Regions from separate parts of the Homo sapiens genome. Here all the other regions are linked to region 1. Evidence: promoter capture Hi-C in 16 types of primary human blood cells and fetal thymus (Javierre and others, 2016). All regions are on one chromosome and are shown on one strand. Each heading gives the region's core, a stretch centred on a gene start or on the middle of the fragment in contact. The rest is flanking DNA. Distances are from core to core; before and after follow the strand shown. Region 1 holds the start of DEPDC4 (DEP domain containing 4). Region 2 overlaps TMPO (thymopoietin). Region 3 overlaps DRAM1 (DNA damage regulated autophagy modulator 1). Region 4 has its middle 11 kb from the start of GNPTAB. Region 5 overlaps GNPTAB (N-acetylglucosamine-1-phosphate transferase subunits alpha and beta). Region 6 overlaps GNPTAB (N-acetylglucosamine-1-phosphate transferase subunits alpha and beta). Region 7 overlaps MYBPC1 (myosin binding protein C1).

Region 1 (2,654 bases), core at 155-2,654:
AGCTATGTTTATAGTGTGCAAGGATCTCATTAAGTAGGGAAAAAGAAAAACCCAAAACAAAAATTTTTTAAAAATGAGCTGAGCAGAACAACTTGTATATTATTATCCTACTTAGGTAAAAATGAATTCCCAACCTATGTAAAAATGTATGTAAATAAATAGAAAGATCTGGAAGAATAAACTTCAAACGAGTAACCTTGGGGAAGAAGGATTGTAATGGTGGCTGATGAAAGAGGATGTACCCTTTTAAAGTGTACAATTCAGTGTTTCTAGTACATTCACAAAGTTGTGCAGCCATCACTATTATCTAATTTCAGACCATTGCATCATTCCACAAAGAAACCTATAGTTCGCAGTCATTCTTCATTCTTCCGTACCCCAGTAAAATTTTAATTAAAATTAAATTTAATTAAAATTAATTAAAAAAATTAAAGAATGATAAGGGAATAACTTAGAACTTCTAGAATGTTTTTTCTAGATTTGCAGGGGGAAGTGGGTAGAATCCAAGAACTTAAGCTCTCTTCTCCAACTATGCATAACCGCAAAAGTATGCCCAACTATACATATGTTTACGATAAAATGACAGAAATAAAAATCCACCACCCTCAAATTCCTTCTGTAACAGAAGTTACCCGTCTAATCACTCAAGAAATCTTATCCCCAGACATTGTGGGCAGAGCGGAGACTGAGGAGGGGAGGCCAGAAAGTGATGGGCGGAGGTGGGCAGGAGGGTACTCGACGGGGTAGGTGGAAAATACAGCGGTACAGCCTGTTTTCCATAGACAGTCTACCTCTCTAACCTTCATTAAACAAGTAGGCTAGATTAAAGAAATAACTCCTCTAGCTCAAGGAATTTGCCCTCTAGTACATTAACCCCTTGTTGCTGTAAGTGTAGCCTAGGGACCAGCAGCATTGGTGCCATCTGGACATGTATTAGAAACGCAGATTATCAGACCCTACTCCTCAATCAGAATTTGCACTTTCACAAGATCCTAGGGATTCGTATGTATATTAAAGTTTGAGAAAAAACGCTTTCCTGCACGCTCCAAGGGCACTTCACCACAGTAACCCCTAAAAAGCCTCAGTCCTGGGTCCCCCAGTCCAGTGCCTGGTAGGGCAGGAAGGGGGCGGGGCTAGGAAATGGGCGGGGCCCTGGACCAATGAGGAGCAGAGTCCCAGCCGCCTGCTCCCTTCAGCTGCCCCCTCCACCTTCACTGCACATTTGGCTAGGATATACAGGGCTACCTGTCCTCCTTTTCCGGCAGAAGCCATCTCTACGGTTCCTGGAACTTGGCCCGTTCAGCCCTGGGCCCGGAAGCTCGTTCTGACTGACAAGTCTACGGAACCTCGGAGTCAAAAGAACCGCCATAAGCTCGCGCGCTGGCTCCTCCCCTGGCACCATAGCCCCGCCCCACCTGACACCCGGGGCGGAGAGAAGTACTGGCTCCGCCTCTTCCGAACCGGCAGGAAGTGACGTCATGCCCCCGGCCGGCAGGTCTTTTAGTCTTTTTCCCCCTCCCTTACTCTTCGTCCCCGGTCCCTCCCCTCCCCACCCCTTTCCTTCTAGCTCCGACGTTTGCGGCCGCGGGGGCGGCGGAGGATATGGAGTAAAGCCAGAGTCAGTGGCCAGGCACGAAGGCAGAGCAGGAACAGCCAGGAGGCGTTTATTAGGGGGGCGGGGGGAAAGAGCCCCAGCACCGCCCCTCCTGGAAGAAGGAAGAGGTAAGTGACCGGCCGCCGGCACCGACCGACCTCCCTCACCGGCGGCTCTCTCGCCTGGGCTCCCGGAGCCGGCGAGGAGGGAATGGAGGACTCGCGCCCGGGTTAGGCCTCCCAGGGCCGCTCAGGCTGGTGGGTGTTGCCTGGTGACGGGCCTGCCGGCGGCCGGCCGGGCGATCGGCGGTCGGCGCCCGCGCAAAGCGGGGCTGGACGAGCAGCGAGCTCCGGGGAGCGGATCCGAGAGGGCCGAGTCCTCGAAAGAGGCCTTGAGGCGACGGGAGACCCGGGATCGAAGTCAGCTGCCGGAGGGAGAGCCCCCCATGCCGGCTCGAGAGCTCGGGTTTCGGTGGTGGAGAACGTAGTACCTTTCGGGGACATTGGACACTACTCTAGGACCGGGTGAGAGAGTTCACCTCAGTTCTGAGGTCCGGAATCCGGTAGCCTGGGTCACCAGCCAGGGCCCTGCCGCCCGCCGTCCTTCTCTGACAGTAGCTTTAGTTCTGGAATGGAAGGTTATTGTGTGTGAGGTGGGTGGGGCAGGGGTTTTGTTAAGAGAAAAAACCCCACGGTTACTCCTGCAGTCTTGTTTTTCTAAACGGGAGAATACGGATGGAGGAGGGTTTAGACCGATAAAGCTTGCAAAAACTTATTGGACTTTGAGCACATACCTGTGATCCGTAATTAAGGAGGCCATATTATCAAATCCACCCTCTAAGGCACTCGAGGAGGCTCCAGACAAGCTGCTTAAAAGCGCTATGCCTGTAGTGACTTCATTGGAAGGTGTCAACTATTTTTTAGTACGTCAAACTCAGGAATTATTTGTGATGACACTTTCTAAAAACATTGGATACTATGAGTGAGTTTTCTAAGTAGCCTATCTCCGTTCTGAAAAATAAATAGTTTAGCAAAAATGCTCCAAATCAGCCTGCCACTGT
Region 2 (2,654 bases), core at 40-2,539, 1.7 Mb before region 1:
CTTAAGAGGTGGGCATTATGATTATTTTTTATTTTTTTATTTTTTATGAGATGGAGTCTCACTCTTGTCACCCAGACTGTAGTGCAGTGGCACGATCTGGGCTCGATGCAACCTCTGCCTCCCAGGTTCAAGCAATTTTCCTGCCTCGGCAGAGACGGGGTTTCACCATGTTGGCCAGGCTGGTCTCGAACCCCTGACCTCAAGTGATCAGCCCACCTCAGCTTCCCAAAGTGCTGGGATTACAGGTGTGATCCACTGCACCCGGCCGGCATTATGATTTTGTGTACTCTTGAAATGGTTATCTTTGTGGATGATTTTTTTTTTTAAGCTGAAACTTACCTCATGAATAACTTGATTAAAGTAGTAGGTGATTAAAATTTCAATAGAATCAAATGAGACAAAAATTTTAAACTGACTCATTTGAGTTTCAACTTTACAGTCATTGACCATAAAGCACACTAAAAATGTAAGTTATTTTTAAATACATCTGAAATAAAAATACTTACTAAAAAGGAAGAAGCCGAAGATGTATATTTAGACCAGCACACAATTTTGATTTCAATTAGCCTTATTCTAATATTTAGCTTTTAGATCTTTCATACACATTTTCACGTACTTTGCAATTGAGACCAGAAAGACTTGTAGGTCTTTCTGCAGAATGAGTGGGTCCTTGCAAAGTGAGTGGGAAACTTACTCCTAGATCAGAAATGTTTGCCTCTCTGAGTAAAATGTTTCTTTCAGATGAGCCATAGAGGGGGCACCTTTTACTCAACTTTTCTTTGTTTTGAAACTTTGTTTCCCATACTGTTTTCAGCCTTTTGTTTATAATTAGAAATTGTGAGAAGCTTCATTTAGTGTTTAAAAATGTGGGGAGATAAATCAGACTTAACATGTATGTAAGATCAATTCACTTAAAAGTATGGTCCAAATAGCAAAAATAGGACCAGGTGAAACATGTAGTCATTTTTTAAAAACATGTACTTGGTCTTTTGTGTGTGTCTGTTTTATTCCATTAGAATAAATGTGTCCTTGATGTAAATGCAAAGCATTTCTTCCTGATTAAATTGTAGATGTAGACTTTACAATATAATTCAATAATAAAAAGTAATTAACCTCTAGTTTTGTCGTTGCAATAAATGGTTTTCAGATAGCACAAACTGTGATTTCTGGATAACATTTCTTATGTGATATTTATGGATTATTGTGTTTTATTTCAGTCTGTTCATATGTTTTACTTCTTATTGTAATCGGGTTCTCGTTTATTCAAAGGTAAGCAATGTGTAGCTACTGTACTCACAGAATGACATTAAGCGCTCCAAGGCACCTCTCCCACACCTAGTTCCTTTTTCCCACCACTTTTACTGTCTTTAGTATTTACCTATGACCCTTATGATTGTTAGTCTTGCTTTGAGACTAAGCCCGTGTCACTGTGATACGTCATGGAGCTGTGCTCACAAGATGAAAGTGCCATTATGTCTTCCTCATTCATGTGTCCCCAGAGGTGATTTGACTTAAATTAGTGTTTCTCAAGGTAGTATAGACACCATAATTAATTATAAGGCAAATCGCATCAAAGGCTTAAAACAACAAGTTTTATTGCATGCTTACCATGTGCTAGGTACTTTTCTATGTGCTTAATATGTATTGATTCACTCAATCCTCACGATAATCCTATGGAGTAGGCATTTTCGTAATATCATTACAAATGAGGAAACTGATGGTTAGAGGTGTTAGGAAGCTTCTTCATGTTTGCACACAGCTGAGAAGTGATGGCTCTGGTTGCATATAATATGGCAGAGGGAACCTAAAACAAACAATTCTCTGTTTACATGCTTTAAACCAGTTCTGTGTTCAGCCCTGCTCCTTTCACAACTTTGGTGGTGCCTTCTGAGTTTCAAACCTCTGAAGCGTTCTTTTGGGTAAAGTAGCTCACTCCTAGTTTTTCTTGTTTTTGTTTTTGTTTTCTTTGAGACAAGGTCTCACTTAATCTTTCTCTGTGGCTATTTAAATCTTCTGGCCAGGTATGGTGGCTCACACCTACAATTCTAGAACTTTGGGAGGCCGAGGCAGGCAGATCACCTGAGGTCAGGAGTTCAAGAGCAGCCTGGCCAACATGGCAAGACAATTTTTAGTCTCTACTAAAAATACAAAAATTAGCCAGGTGTGGTGGTGGGTGCCTGCAATCCCAGCTACTCGGTAGGCTGAGGCAGAAGAATGACCCGAACCTGGGAGGCAGAGGTAACACTCCAGCCTGGGTGACAGAGTGAGACTCCATTTCAAAACAACAACAGTAATAATAAATTTAAGCCTTATTTAATTTTGCTAATTTTTCTGTTTCTTAATCTTTTTTTTTTTTTTTTTTTTTTGACAGAGTCTTGCTCTGTCGCCCAGGCTGGAGTGCAGTGGCGCCATCTTGGCTCACTGCAACCTCTGCCTCCAGGGTTCAAGTGATTCTCCTGTCTCAGCTTCCCGAGTAGCTGGTACTACAGGTGCGCCGCCATGCCCAGCTAATTTTTGTATTTTTAGTAGAGACGGGGTTTCGCCATGTTGGGCAGGCTGGTCTTGAACTCCTGACCTCAAGTGATCCTCCCAAAGTGCTGGGATTACAGGCGTGAGCCACCACCCCTGGCCTAATTTGTTTTTGTTTGTTTTTT
Region 3 (2,654 bases), core at 42-2,541, 1.6 Mb after region 1:
TTGAACACTTTAAATAAGAGCCACAACCATAAGGAGGACCTCTCCCCAGTATGGCATTTAGAATCAGCTTCCTTATCAGATACTTTCTCCTTGTAACATTGTTATTCTTCAGCATATTGGATAAATTGGCAAATGGCTCTTATACACATGAAAAGATACTCAACTTTATGAATAGGAATAAATATTCAAATTAAAACTCACTGATGCCAGTTGTGATCTAGTGGGTTAGCAGAAACCCAAATGTTTGATACTAGTACTGGTGAGAATATGGGGAAACAGTCTCTCTCATACATTGCTTACAGGAACGTGAATTGATTTCAGTCTCCATGGTGGGACTTGGGCAATATCTATGGAAATGACAGATACACACACACCCCCCCATCATTTGATGCAACAGCCTTTTTTTTTTTTTTTTTTTTTGAAATTTATCCTATAGGTGTACATGCCCATGTGAAGAATGGCATTTCTGCAGAGTTACTCAGGGCATTGCTTTGAATAACAAAAGATTGGAAACTACAAATGACTATCAGTAGAGAATTGCCTAAATAAATATGGTTTATTTATTAAAGGATACTTCAAGTGAAAGCTCTCTGTACCTAGCAGATTTTTACGTCAATACACTTATATGGAAAAATCTCCAAGATACATTGTTACATGGGAAAAAGCAAGATGCAGAACAACCTATGCTCTCGTTAGTTAAGAAAAAAGAGGAGAAAAATAATATATATTTGCATTAGCTTGCATAAAGAAACTAATGAAAGTGGTTTATCTGTGTGTGATGGAGGGAGGAGTAGGTCAAGGTCAGTGAGACATTGGCAGATGGGGAAAAAGGATAATTATAAGGCATACTTTTTTGTTTTATTTTTTACCCAAATAGGTTTTTTTTTTTTTTTTTGAGATGGAGTTTCACTCTTGTTGCCCAGGCTGGAGTACAATGGCACGATCTCGGCTCACCACAACCTCCGCCTCCCGGGTTCAAGCGATTCTCCTGCCTCAGCCTCCTGATAGCTGGGATTACAGGCACGTGCCACCACACCTGGCTAATTTTTTTGTATTTTTAGTAGAGACGGGGTTTCACCATGTTAGCCAGGGTGGTCTCGATCTCCTGACTTCATGATCCGCCCACCTCGGCCTCCCAAAGTGCTGGGATTACAGGCGTGAGCCACTGCGCCCCGCATGAATGTTTCCTATCAGAAAATTAAATTAAAAACATGAGGCCGGGCGCAGTGGCTCACTCACGCCTGTAATCCCAGCACTTTGGGAGGCCAAAGCAGGCGGATCACGAGGTCAAGAGATCGCAACCATTCTGGCCAACATTGTGAAACCCTATCTCTACTAAAAATACAAAAATTAGCTGGGCATGGTGGCATGTGCCTGTAGTCCCAGCTACTCAGGAGGCTGAGGCAGAAGAATCGCTTGAACCCGGAGGTGGAGGTTGCAGTGGACCGAGATTGTGCCACTGCACTCCAGCCTGGTGATAGAGCGAGACTCTTTCTCAAAAAAAAAAAAAATAAATAAATACAAAATAAAAACATGGGACCAACCACCGTGAGATATAACAAGTTAGAATAGCATAAAGTGATATTTCTTATTCTGAAACCATTAACAAAAGCATATCAAAAGGAAGGACAAATAAAAGCTAATCTCAAAAAATTAGTTTAGATTTGCACTCGGGTGTGGTGCCTTATGCCTGTAATCCCAGCACTTTGGGAGGCTGAAGTGGGCTGATCACTTGAGTCCGGGTGTTTGAGACCAGCCATGGGCAATATGGTGCAACCCTGTCTCTACAATACATACAAAAAATTAGCTGAGCGTGGTAGGATGCACCTACAGTCCCACTTACTCAGGAGCCTGAGTGGGAGGATCACTTGAGCCTGCAGTCTGAGGCTGCAGTGATCACTCCAGCTTGGGTGACAGAGTGATACCCTGTCTCAAAAAAAAAAAAAAAAAAAAAAGATTTGCACACGGCCACACCCACATTCTCAAGCCAAATCATGCTTAACTTGTTATAGTTTCTTATCAAATTATTAACTTTTTCCAGCTGATAGATCACTGTCTTCCATCTTCTTTTTGGCATGTGTCTCCTGCCATGATATCTTGCTCATGATATTCTGTGATCCTTTACTCTTCAGTGTTGCCGATTCTAGATCCTGGCTTTTCTCTTTATTAGCACGTCTCACTTTCCATGTGAATACAGTTTTGTGGGATAGATTGTGGCCTTTGGCCACCCATATTGTCCTACCTCATGACCCCATAATCTCTGCTCAGTAGTTGATGACAGAAAACTGGGTCACCTAGAATCAAGCCACTTTAAAAGGAGGAACAAAATTGCAGAGTAAATGAAGTAAAAGAAGTTTGGTCAGGTCTTTAACTTCAAAAATGATACTAAAAATTAGGAAAATAACGATTTTAACTTGCATTTATGTAACAATCACAAATTTTGGGTTATGACAAGTGTGTGTTAAATCTTCAGATGCTGATCTTTATAGAGAAAATGTTTTTTTTTTTTTTTTTGAGATGGAGTTTCACTTTTGTTGCCCAGGCTGGAGTGCAATGGCGCAATCTTGGCCCACTGCAACCTCCTGCCACCTGGTTCAAGCGATTCTCCCACCTCATCCTCCCGAGTAGCTGTGATTAGAGGCATGTGCCACCAC
Region 4 (2,654 bases), core at 104-2,603, 1.6 Mb after region 1:
TCAGGAGTTCAAGACGGACCAGCCTGGCCAACATGGCGAAACCTCGTCTCTACTAAAAATAAAAAAATTAGCCAGGCCTGGTGGCGCATGCCTGTAATCCGAGCTACTCAGGAGGCTGAGGCTTGAGAATCGCTTGAACCCGGGAGGGGGAGGTTGCAGTGAGTCGAGATTGTGCCATTGTACTCTAGCCTGGGTGATAAGAGTGAGACTCCATCTCAAAAAAAAAAAAAATTAAATTAGCTAGGTGTGGTGGTACAGACTTGTAGTTCTAGCTACTTGGGAGGCTGAGGAGGGAGGATCACTTGAGCTGAGAAGTTTGAGGTTACAATGAGTTGTGATAGCACCACTGCACTCCATCCTGGGCAAAAGAGTAAGACAAAAGAAAAGAAAAGAAGGAAAGGAGGAAGAAAGGAAGGAAGGGAGAGAGAGGGGGAAAGAAAGAAAAAGAAAGAAAGAAAGAAAAGAAAGAAAGAAGAAAGAAAGAAAGAAAAAGAAAAAGAGAGAGCGAGAGAGAGAGAAAGAAAGAAAGAGAGAGAGAAAGAAACAAAGAGGCTGGGCTCAGTGTTTCACGCCTATAATCCCAGCACTTTGGGAGGCCAAGGTGGGCGGATCACGAGGTCAGGAGATGGAGACCATCCTGGCTAACATGGTGAAACCCCGTCTCTACTAAAAATACAAAAAATTAGCCGGGTGTGGTGGCAGGCGCCTGTAGTCCCAGCTACTCGGGAGGCTGAGGCAGGAGAATGGCGTGAACCCCAGGAGGCAGAGCTTGCAGTGAGCCGAGATCAGGCCACTGCACTCCAGCCTGGGCAACAGAGTGAGACTTTGTCTCAAAAAAAAAGAAAGAAAGAGAGAAAGAAAGAAAGAAAGAAAATTCCCTCTGTGTATTTTTCTGTCTGTCTTGTCTCTCCTGTCTCCCCCTTAGTTCCTAATTTCTTCCCTGTTTAAGTTCTCACAAACCTCAGGATCAATATGAAGTCCACTGTGATGTACTTTGCAGAATCTACCTATTTGCAAAAGCTAACTCCTACCCTCATCTTTGTACCTGGTGTTTGAAAACTGGATCAATTTTCTGATCTCCAAGCATTTGGAACTTTCTTTAGTTTTCATCTCCTTAAAACCAAAGCTTCCAACCCCACCGGAAACAAACAAACAAGCAAACAAAACACCCAAAGCAGTGAGCACTCAATATATATATTTGATTATCCATAAATGCTGATTCTCTAATTCATTGCAATGTCAAGTTCATAATTAAATAGGGAGACTTTTGCATTTTGCATAGTCTGCTTTCCAGAATACTGTCAGGGATACTCTGATATTTTGCTATAATGCTTTGGCAGTGCTCTAGATGTATTAAACTCACTGTAACCAATCCCAGGAGCACAGTAAAAGTCCAAGTGATGCCAACCAACAAGGAAATTTCAGAGTTAATTTATCCAAAGTATAAATATCACAGTGAAAGAGTAATAACTGGTGCTTCTGACATTTTAGGCTAAAGGAACGAATAAATGAATGTGGCAAGAACCCCTAGATTATACCAAAAGAAGGGTGAATAATTATTAGGGTTAGTGTGAATAGAGAGAAGCTTATGAAAAGGAAAAAGATTTTCTGTTGTCTTTTCTTCTGTCATCAAGTTCGAACCAGCTGCAGGTTTATCTCAATTGCTCTGCTATGAGGTGCACGTAAAACAAAAAGATTCTAAAAGCTACATTATAAGTCCCTTCCAATGTGGACAGCCCTATTCCTTTCCAAGGCCTATATATTCTTTGGATTCTTAGTTTAAAGCAGCAACATTAAAATTGTAAATGAGATAAGGCAGGACTGGTTTTACCATTTTCACATCTTACATCATATTAACCTAGATTCAAAGTAAAGTCATTCTTGTTGGATTTATTTTCGTGTCACACAATATGCAGATTCACCACTAATTAATTTTGAGAATTCTCCTCTAGAAACGTGCTTTTTTATTAAGATAAATTTCTCTCAAATAAGGTTAAATAAACAAAAAATCATGGGTCAAAGCCTCATTGTCTGCTGAGCAATCATGTATATTGCTTTAATTATTCTTCCTCAATTTCCTTGAAAATTCTCTATTTAACTTTATTGAGATTATAATTAAGATCCTATAAAATTAGGCCAGGCGCGGTGGCTCATGCCTGTAATCCCAGCACTTTGGGAGGCCAAGGCGGGTGGATCACAAAGTCATGAGTTTGAGACCTAGGCCAACATGGTGAAACCCCATCTCTGTAAAAAAAAATACAAAAAATTAGCCAGGCATTGTGGCGTGGGCCTGTAATTCCAGCTTCTCAGAAGGCTGAGGCAGGAGAATAGCTTAAACCCAAGAGGCAGAGTTTGCAGTGAGCCAAGATCGTGCCACCGTACTCCAGCCTGGGCTACAGAGCAAGACTTTGTCTCAAAAAACAAACAAAGAAACACACACACACACACACATATACACACACAAAACAAGATTCTATAAAATTGACCCATTAGCTGGGTACAGTAACTCACATCTGTAATCCCAGTATTTTGGGAGGCCAAGGAGAGAGGATCATTTGAGCTCAGGAGTTCCAGACTAGCCTGGGCAACATAGTGAGACCCATTTCTACAAAAAAAAAATTTTTTTTAATTAGCTAGGCATGTTGGCACACACC
Region 5 (2,654 bases), core at 52-2,551, 1.6 Mb after region 1:
AATCATGGCTCAATGTAGCCTCAATCTCCTGGGCTCCAGTGATCCTCCTACCTCAGCCTCCAGAGTAGCTGGGACTACAGGCACGTGCTACCACACCTAGCTAAGTTTTGTATTTTTTTGTAGAGATGGGGTTTTGTCATGTTGCCCAGGCTGGTCTTGAACACCTGAGTTCAAGCAACCCACCCACCTAAGCCTCTCAAAGTGCTGGGATTCAGGTGTGAGCCATTGCACCCAGCCTGATCATTACAGATTGTATGCATGTATAAAAATATCACATGTACTCCATAAATGTGCATAACTATTATATAGCCATAATAATTAAAAATTAAAGTAATTAATTTTTTAAATAGCTAGCCAAGGTGACACATGCCTACAATCCCAGCTATGGGGAGGCTGAGGTGGGAGGATCACTTGAGCCCAGGAGTTCAAGACCAGTCTGGGGAACATAGCGAGATCCTGTCTCAAAAAATAAAAATATCAAAAAAGCTTGTGGATTCTGAAGCATTATACTTGATGTGGGATTTTCACCCCGTCTCCTGTTGCCCGTTTTCCCCCACCTGCAATTCATCTTCCACATTACCTCCAGAGCAACTGTTCTAAGCACAGATTTTATTTCATCACTCTCTTCCTTAAAATCCTTTGATGGTCCCCATTTTCTTCAGGATGAATTCACATTCCTTAGTACCACCCAGCAGGCAAGTCCTAAACTGGCCCCTGCCTGCCTCTTCGGCTTCATTCCCCTGTCACTCCAAAGATGCTGCAGCCCTTTAGAACTACTTTTGTTCTTAGAAGTTAATAATGTCTCATATCCATACCTTTACACCAATGGCATCTTTTCCTTAAGAAACAAAACAAACAAAAACACTCCCCTTCCTTTACTCAGCCATCTCCTTCCAGACCAAGCTCAGGTATCACACCATCTGAGAAAGTGTGCTTGGCACTGCATTCATCACAACACATTTCAAGTTTGCCTACTTGCCTGTCCACCTCCCTGCCTGGACTATGAGTTCCTCCAGAGCAGAAAGCAACTTAAATATATTTGTGTCTTTTTTTTTTTTTTTTTTGGAGACAGAGTCTTACTCTGTTGCCCAGGCTGGAGTCCAGTAGCACGATCTCGGCTCACCACAACCTCCATCTCCCAGATTCAAGTGATTCTCCTGCCTCAGCCTCCCAAGTAGCTGGGATTACGGGCACCTGACACCACACCCGACTAATTTTTGTATTTTTAGTAGAGATGAGGTTTCACCATGTTGCCAGGCTGGTCTCAAACTCCTGACTTCAGGTGATCCACCCACCTCAGACTCCCAAAGTGTTGGGATTATAGGCCTGAGCCACCGTGCCCAGCCCTTTGTGTCTTTAGTCAACAGTAGACAACCTGGCTAATATAGTTTGCCTGTGTCCCCACCCAAATCTCATTTTGAATTGTAGCTCCCATAATCCCCATGTGTCATGGGAGGGACCTGATGGGAGGTAACCGAATCATGGGAGTAGGCTTTTCCCATGCTGTTCCTGTGATAGTGAGTAAGTCTCACAAGATCTGATGGTTTTATAAAGGGCAGTTCCTCTGCACATGCTCTCTTGCCTGCTGCCATGTAAGATGTGCCTTTGCTCCTCTTTCCCCTTTCACCATGATTGTAAGGCATCCCCAGCCATGTGGAACTGCAAGTACATTAAAACTCTTTTTCCTTTTTTTTTTTTGAGACAGAGTCTCGCTCTTGTCGCCCAGGCTGGAGTGCAATGACACGATCTTGGCTTACTGCAACCTCCACCTCCCAGGTTCAAGCAATTCTCCTGCCTCAGCCTCCCAAGTATCTGGGATTACAGGTGCCCGCCACCACACTTGGCAAATTTTTGTATTTTTGGTAGAGACAGGGTTTCACCATGTTCGCCAGGCTCGTCTTGAACTCCTGACCTGAGGTGATCCACCTGCCCCGGCCTCCCAAAGTGCTGGGATTACAGGCATGAGCCACCATGTCTGGCCTAAACCTCTTTTTCTTTATAAACTACCCAGTCTCGCGTATGTCTTCACAGCAGTATGAAAATGGACTAATACACTGGCCCAAAGTGAACACCTCCATAAGCCTGTCACATGAACAACTTCTGAAAATTTGCTTTAGAAGCTTTATCTAATTGGGAATTAATGAGAGACAGAAATGAAGTGAGAAAATGAAGGGGGGGAAAAAGGTTTATCAAAGGAAAAAGAAAAACTAGAATCCTAAAAAAATGAAGCAATTTTGAGAAGTAATCTTAAAGTGGGCAATATGGTTTTTAGTCTGATCATAGAATGAGTTTCACTCCCTGAATGAGTGTGACCTGACCTGGTCTTTCTGAAAGATCACTTTTTCCTGTGTAATTTAGTATGCATACGAATCACACATAGGCTGACTAATCAACTGCTGAAGATTCTGCATCTGTATCGCAAGATGAGAACAATCTAAAGAACAGCAGAAATTTTAAAAAGATATATCATGAATATATATAATCTATTATAGTTACACCTGTTATATTTTAGAAGGAACTATAGGAAGCCTACATATATTAGTATACAGTACAAGCTATATTAAATAAAGGACTTGCTCCCTCTGATTTCATAGCAATCATAACACAGCACACCAAGGTCAAGAAATCACTGTGAGTTCTCCTGTTCTGTATTT
Region 6 (2,654 bases), core at 1-2,500, 1.5 Mb after region 1:
TAATATATGGTCCAAAAAAAGGAAGCTGAAGGAGACAAAATTAGCCCATTCAACAAAAGGGGAACAATGTAAATCAGTGTACGTTGAAATGTTAAATTTCACAATACCAAAGGTGATTGACATAAAGGGAATTCTTCATGGGAGCAGTCAAATTTAAGCTAGAATGCGAAGACAGAAATGATAGGATGATAGAAATCACAGATGTATATGCAAAGACAGGGGGAAAAAGAAAGAATTGTTTGACTAGAGTAAAATATTTGGGAGTGGTGAGTACTAGGAAACAAGGGTAACCAAAGGGGCCCTTGAACACCAGGCAGTGGCATGTATGTTAACAGCAGGGGGCTACTATGGATCTTGTGGTTCCTTAAGAGGCACAGTTTTCTCATAATGAATCCCCAGTTCATTGGGTGCTGCTGAATGGAGCATCATAAGTCACAGTAGGGATTGGGGGTGACACAGCCCAACTGGGAGAGAGTTAGTGATGGGGACAAGTGAGATCAACAAACTCACTGCTGACATTCAGGGATTGTGGAAAACAAAAGAGAGGTCAGAAAGCTCCAATTCTGATCTTCAAGATAAACAAAGAAGGCAGGTTCTCCAAATTATAGCCTGATGAGATGAGATGTCAATCCTGGGCATGAGTCTCAAGTGTACTATAGTTACAGGGCACAGTAGCTCATGCCTGTAATCCCAGCACTTTGGGAGGCTGAGGCAGGAGTATCACTTGAGCCCAGAAGTTCTATATCAGCCTGGGCAACATGGCAAAACCCTGTCTCTACAAAAAACAAACAAACAAACAAAAAACACAAAAACTAGCCGAGTGTGGTGGTGTGCACCTATAGTCCCAGCTACTCAGGAGGCTGAGATGGGAGGATCATCTGAGCCCCGGAGTTGGGGCTGTGGTGAGCCATGATCATGCCACTGCACTCTAGCCTGGGTGACAGAGTGAGGCCTGGTCTCAAAAACTGAAAAAAAACAATATAGTTGGTGAGCACTGAGAAAAGAAAGCCTTCATAATACACTGTTTATCTTTAAAGGAAGCACTGGCTGTTAAGAGTATGAATTCATTACAACTTTATCAGATAAACTTTTCTCTCTCTCTTTCCATTGATATGATGAATTCTACCTAACAGACCTGGTATATGTATTTGTAATCTCAGCAAAGTAGCTAAGGGCATCTCATGTCATCTTCATGGATATAACAAAGACATACAGGCTCGATGCTCAGGTGGGCTAGAACTTAACCAATTCTACCAAAGAGGTGTAGGTAACAAAGCCGCAATCAACCTAGAGGGAGGTTTAGGAGATTAGTCATAGGTCCGGTCTTGCTGAACCCTCTATCAATGTTTTGGAAGTTACAGAAGGCATGCTTGTGAAATGTGTAGATTCATAGGAAGATGGCAGAGAAGCTATTGTCCTGGATAAGAGACTATGGATTTCCCAAATTTGTGACTATTTGGAGCAATGAGTCAAATCTGGCAAAATAAAATCTCCTATGAAGTAAAACCTTTATATATGGTACCAAAACCAACTACACAAGCATACACTAAAATAGGTATTTGAGCATTAGAATATATAAGTTTTTTTTTTAAAAAGATAAGTTTTACTCAACAGTGAGTTCAGTATGAGTCAACAATGTGCTGTGGCCACACTGAATTTCCATCACATTTTTGTGCTTTTAAACAGAAGTAAAGTACGTCGAATAAAAAAGGTGATGATGTTCTCTAACACCGAGTCATTAGGAAACCCTGTTGGGTTGACCTTCAAAATGTCCAGAATCCAACCACTTCTTATCTTCACTGCACCTCCCTGGTCTAAGCAACCTTCCCTCTTGTCTGAATTATCACAACTTTTGCCCCTCCTCAGTCTATTTCCACCAAAGAAGCCAGATTGACTGCCTGGAATGTAAGTCAGATCACATTACATTTCTACTCAAAACCCTCTGGTGATTCCTCATCCTACTCCAAGTTAAAGCCAGGTCCTTGTTATGGTTACTAGGGCCTACACTATTTGGTCCCCTGCTTACTTCTTCAGGTTCATCTACTGCCTGCCTCTGTCTTGTTCACTCCATTCCAGCCACACTAGCCTCCTGGCTTTTCTTCAAACATGCCAGATACACTCCTGCCTCAGGGCCTTTGCAATGGCTATTCTACTTACCCAGATCAGTCTTTCCCCAGATATTCGCATTGCTGGCTACCTCACCTTCTTCACATTTCCACTCAAAAGTCACCTTCTGAGTGAGCAATGTCCCTACCATCCAAATTAGAATTGCAACCCCCTGCCCTGGCCGACACTTCCTCTGCTGCTGCCCCTGCTTGGTTTTTTTCTAAAGCATTATCTTCTATAAACTATGTAATCTACTTATTTATCGTGTTTACCGTCTGACTCTCTGACTCCCTCCACCAAGATGTAAACACAAGGTAAGGGTAGAGATTTTTGCCCATCTGTTCCCTGCTGTATCTTCAGTACAGGGAACAGTACCTGGCACACAGCAGGCACTTAATAAGCACTCATTAAACAGACAGTCCTGCTCTCCCTGCCAAGACAGAACCACACTAAAATAGAATGTTCACTTCCCATTGACACATTTTAAAAGTAATCTGAGAAGAGCAAACTGGGACACTGACAAGTCCCTGAGAGACAGCCAAAGAAAG
Region 7 (2,654 bases), core at 107-2,606, 1.4 Mb after region 1:
CCCAGATCTGGGGGTCTGCGTGTTCAGCTTCTGTCACTGAGTCTGAGAGAGAAAAAATCATGAGAACAGGGACCGCATAGATCTGGCATCCCAGAGACTGTTCAGCCCCCAGGAAGGGAGATGAGACCAAAGTGTGATGTTTGTATATTTGTGTAATCTCTAGAGTTCGCAAACATTTTCTCATTTGATCCTCAGAAACACCCTGTGAGGCAGGAAGGCCAGATTTCCTTACCTTGCTTGAGAAGGGAAGAAACTGAAAGGGAAGTTAAGTGACTTGCCCAATGTCACACAGAAAGTCAATGGTAGGGCCAAGAACAGAGTCCATGGCCCGGTCACTTAATTCAGTGGTTTTTTCCACTCTGTATATTATTAGAGAACCCACATTTTTCCCTAGTGGCTAACAGCAAGTTGTACATTTAAGGAAATAAGCTTGAACTGTTTTTCCCTATCTTCAACAACGTCGTTCTCTGCTTCCCATGTGTGAGTCTGAGCATCCCCAACCACTCTTCAGGCTCTGAAGCAGGGGTTTGGTGTGTAGCTCTACATCTCTTATTATAACCTAGCCATGTTCAGAGCCCACAGGAAAGCTGTGCCTTACCTGACAGAATTCATGCTTGGTTCCTGTCTGCCAGGGTACGCCTGGATGCTTGGGGATTCTAGGAAATTCCTTTGTAATAGAAATGGAAACTCAGGTTCATGAATGGGATTATGATTTCTTAAATTCTGCTCTTAAAGAATAGTTTCAACAGCGAGAGGGAACAGAGAGAGAATTCTAGACAAGTCTAAAATGAGCAGCACAGGACAGTAGAATAGTAATCATTAACATTTAGATGATATTGGCCGGGCACGGTGGCTCACACCCATAATCCCAGCACTTTGGAAGGCTGAGGCGTGTGAATCACATGAGGTCAGGAGTTCAAGACCAGCCTGGCCAACTTGGTGAAACCCTGTTTCTACTAACAACTAAAAAAATTAGCCAAGCATGGTGGTGCGTGCCTGTAAACCCAAGTACTTGGGAGGGTGAGCAGGAGAATCCCTTGAACCCAGGAGGTGGAGGTTGCAGTGAGCCAAGATTGTGCCACTGCACTCCAGCCTGGGCGACAAGAGCCAAACTCTGTCAAAAAAAAAAATTTAGATGATATTAACTACAAAAACTTATGTATTGGGCAGAAGCTTTCTCAGCACTTTAATCTTTATAACCACTCTTTGAGATAGGTACTACCATTATTCCCGTTGAGGCACAGAAAGCTTAGTAACTTGCCCAGGGTCACACAGACGTTAAGTGGTCAGGAGCTAGACATAGATTCCAGGGCCCCAGAGCCCATGCTCTTAACAATTATCCTGTGTTGTGCAGGCTTTTGGAGACTAGGAGACCCAGCTGGGAGACCTGGTTCCAGTGCTTACCTAACTGCAGGACCTTGGACAAATTATTTAACTTCTCTATCCAAAAAATGAGGATAATGATAAGCTTGATGTGAAGATTAAGGAAAATAATCAATGTTATGTACCTAAGGTAGTGCCTTGCACATAAAATACAGATTACAGCTTTGCTGCTGTAATTGCTCACCACCAGACTAGAAGGGTGGTATTTTCCAGCCCTGCCTAGAATGGGTTAAGCCACTGTCCTTCTCATAATGCTGAAGAAACATCTTGAGACAATATGATTTACCCTCTCTACTTTTGCTGTCTTTCTTTTTAGGGAAAACCAAGACCAGAATTAACTTGGAAGAAGGATGGTGCAGAAATTGATAAGAATCAAATAAACATTCGCAACTCTGAGACTGATACAATCATATTTATTAGAAAAGCAGAGAGGAGCCACTCTGGGAAATATGATCTGCAAGTCAAAGTGGACAAATTCGTGGAGACCGCATCAATTGACATCCAGATCATTGGTAGGTTTAGATGAAGGAGCCAGAAAGTTCTGTCAAAGCAGTACAGGGATGAATTGTCCTTGTCCCTAAGGCAAGAGCAGGAGTTTTGTTAGGCTGGCTCTACATAAAACTCTTTTTTTAGATTTATTTTTTAAAAATAGATAAATTAGGCTGGGCGTGGTAGCTTACACCTGTAATCCCAGTACTTTGGGAGGCCAACGTAGGCGGATCACTTGGGGTCAGGAGTTCAAGACCAGCCTGGCCAACATTGTGAAGCCCCGTCTCTACTAAAAATACAAAAAGTAGCTGGGCATGGTGGCGTGCACCTGTAATCCCAGCTACTCAGGAAACTGAGGCAGGAGAATCGCTTGAACCTGGGAGGTGGAAGTTGCAGTGAGCTGAGATCATGCCACTGCACTCTAGCCTGGGTGACAGAGTGAGACTCTGTCTCCAAAAAAAGGACAGTAAGATTTGTTACCATTTCAAAATGAATTCTCACCAACTCAAAGGACTAATCACAGGAGATTTAAGGCATATATGTTCAAGAAAATTAATGGATGTGCTTTTTAGTGAAATCCTTCTGCACTATTCTATAACCCAGCTGTCTCTTTCTCTTAGTTTCTCATCTCCCTGATGATAAAATTATTTCTTATGTTGAATTCTTACATTCTAGACAGTATAGATTCTAGCTATAGTTTAACATGTTTCTTACTACACCTAAAATTTGCTAATGAAGTTTTCATGGAGAATGAAGAATTTTTTTTAATATTAATATAAGGA

What was found. The method cuts DNA at HindIII sites, captures the fragments that hold promoters and counts their contacts. A CHiCAGO score of 5 or more calls a contact.
Region 2: a contact is called between a fragment that was not itself captured here and the fragment with the promoter of DEPDC4 in region 1, in 1 of 17 cell types (total CD4 T cells). The highest score is 6.7, in total CD4 T cells.
Region 3: a fragment that was not itself captured here is called in contact with the fragment with the promoter of DEPDC4 in region 1 in 1 of 17 cell types (neutrophils); the score reaches 8.2 in neutrophils.
Region 4: a fragment that was not itself captured here is called in contact with the fragment with the promoter of DEPDC4 in region 1 in 1 of 17 cell types (total CD8 T cells); the score reaches 6.4 in total CD8 T cells.
Region 5: a contact is called between a fragment that was not itself captured here and the fragment with the promoter of DEPDC4 in region 1, in 1 of 17 cell types (activated CD4 T cells). The highest score is 6.7, in activated CD4 T cells.
Region 6: a contact is called between a fragment that was not itself captured here and the fragment with the promoter of DEPDC4 in region 1, in 1 of 17 cell types (neutrophils). The highest score is 6.6, in neutrophils.
Region 7: a contact is called between a fragment that was not itself captured here and the fragment with the promoter of DEPDC4 in region 1, in 1 of 17 cell types (total CD4 T cells). The highest score is 6.1, in total CD4 T cells.

The regions. Positions count from the first base shown.
Region 1 is chr12:100,265,675-100,268,328 of GRCh38, forward strand. It overlaps DEPDC4 (DEP domain containing 4), which reads right to left and starts at 1,405. Exons shown (of 10, transcript NM_001364818.2): 1 at 1,246-1,405. The coding sequence starts at 1,402. SCYL2 (SCY1 like pseudokinase 2) reads left to right here and starts at 1,503. Exons shown (of 18, transcript NM_017988.6): 1 at 1,503-2,118. RefSeq lists enhancers at 1,248-1,327, 1,998-2,067, 2,078-2,137 and silencers at 1,698-1,747, 1,848-1,927. The HindIII fragment of the contact is 4,398 bases long and covers 1-2,352 here.
Region 2 is chr12:98,549,195-98,551,848 of GRCh38, forward strand. TMPO (thymopoietin) reads left to right here. Exons shown (of 9, transcript NM_001032283.3): 9 at 1-1,157. Among named protein-coding and RNA genes, the nearest start is that of TMPO-AS1, 34 kb to the left of the region's middle. The HindIII fragment of the contact is 893 bases long and covers 844-1,736 here.
Region 3 is chr12:101,882,437-101,885,090 of GRCh38, forward strand. The region is part of intron 1 of DRAM1 (DNA damage regulated autophagy modulator 1); the gene reads left to right. Among named protein-coding and RNA genes, the nearest start is that of DRAM1, 6.2 kb to the left of the region's middle. The HindIII fragment of the contact is 3,451 bases long and covers 1-2,654 here.
Region 4 is chr12:101,840,833-101,843,486 of GRCh38, forward strand. No RefSeq gene overlaps it. Among named protein-coding and RNA genes, the nearest start is that of GNPTAB, 11 kb to the left of the region's middle. The HindIII fragment of the contact is 459 bases long and covers 1,125-1,583 here.
Region 5 is chr12:101,817,331-101,819,984 of GRCh38, forward strand. All of the region lies in intron 1 of GNPTAB (N-acetylglucosamine-1-phosphate transferase subunits alpha and beta), which reads right to left. Among named protein-coding and RNA genes, the nearest start is that of GNPTAB, 12 kb to the right of the region's middle. The HindIII fragment of the contact is 1,634 bases long and covers 485-2,118 here.
Region 6 is chr12:101,780,724-101,783,377 of GRCh38, forward strand. The region is part of intron 5 of GNPTAB (N-acetylglucosamine-1-phosphate transferase subunits alpha and beta); the gene reads right to left. Among named protein-coding and RNA genes, the nearest start is that of SYCP3, 43 kb to the left of the region's middle. The HindIII fragment of the contact is 3,177 bases long and covers 1-2,654 here.
Region 7 is chr12:101,671,728-101,674,381 of GRCh38, forward strand. MYBPC1 (myosin binding protein C1) reads left to right here. Exons shown (of 32, transcript NM_002465.4): 25 at 1,700-1,895. Among named protein-coding and RNA genes, the nearest start is that of CHPT1, 25 kb to the right of the region's middle. The HindIII fragment of the contact is 220 bases long and covers 1,247-1,466 here.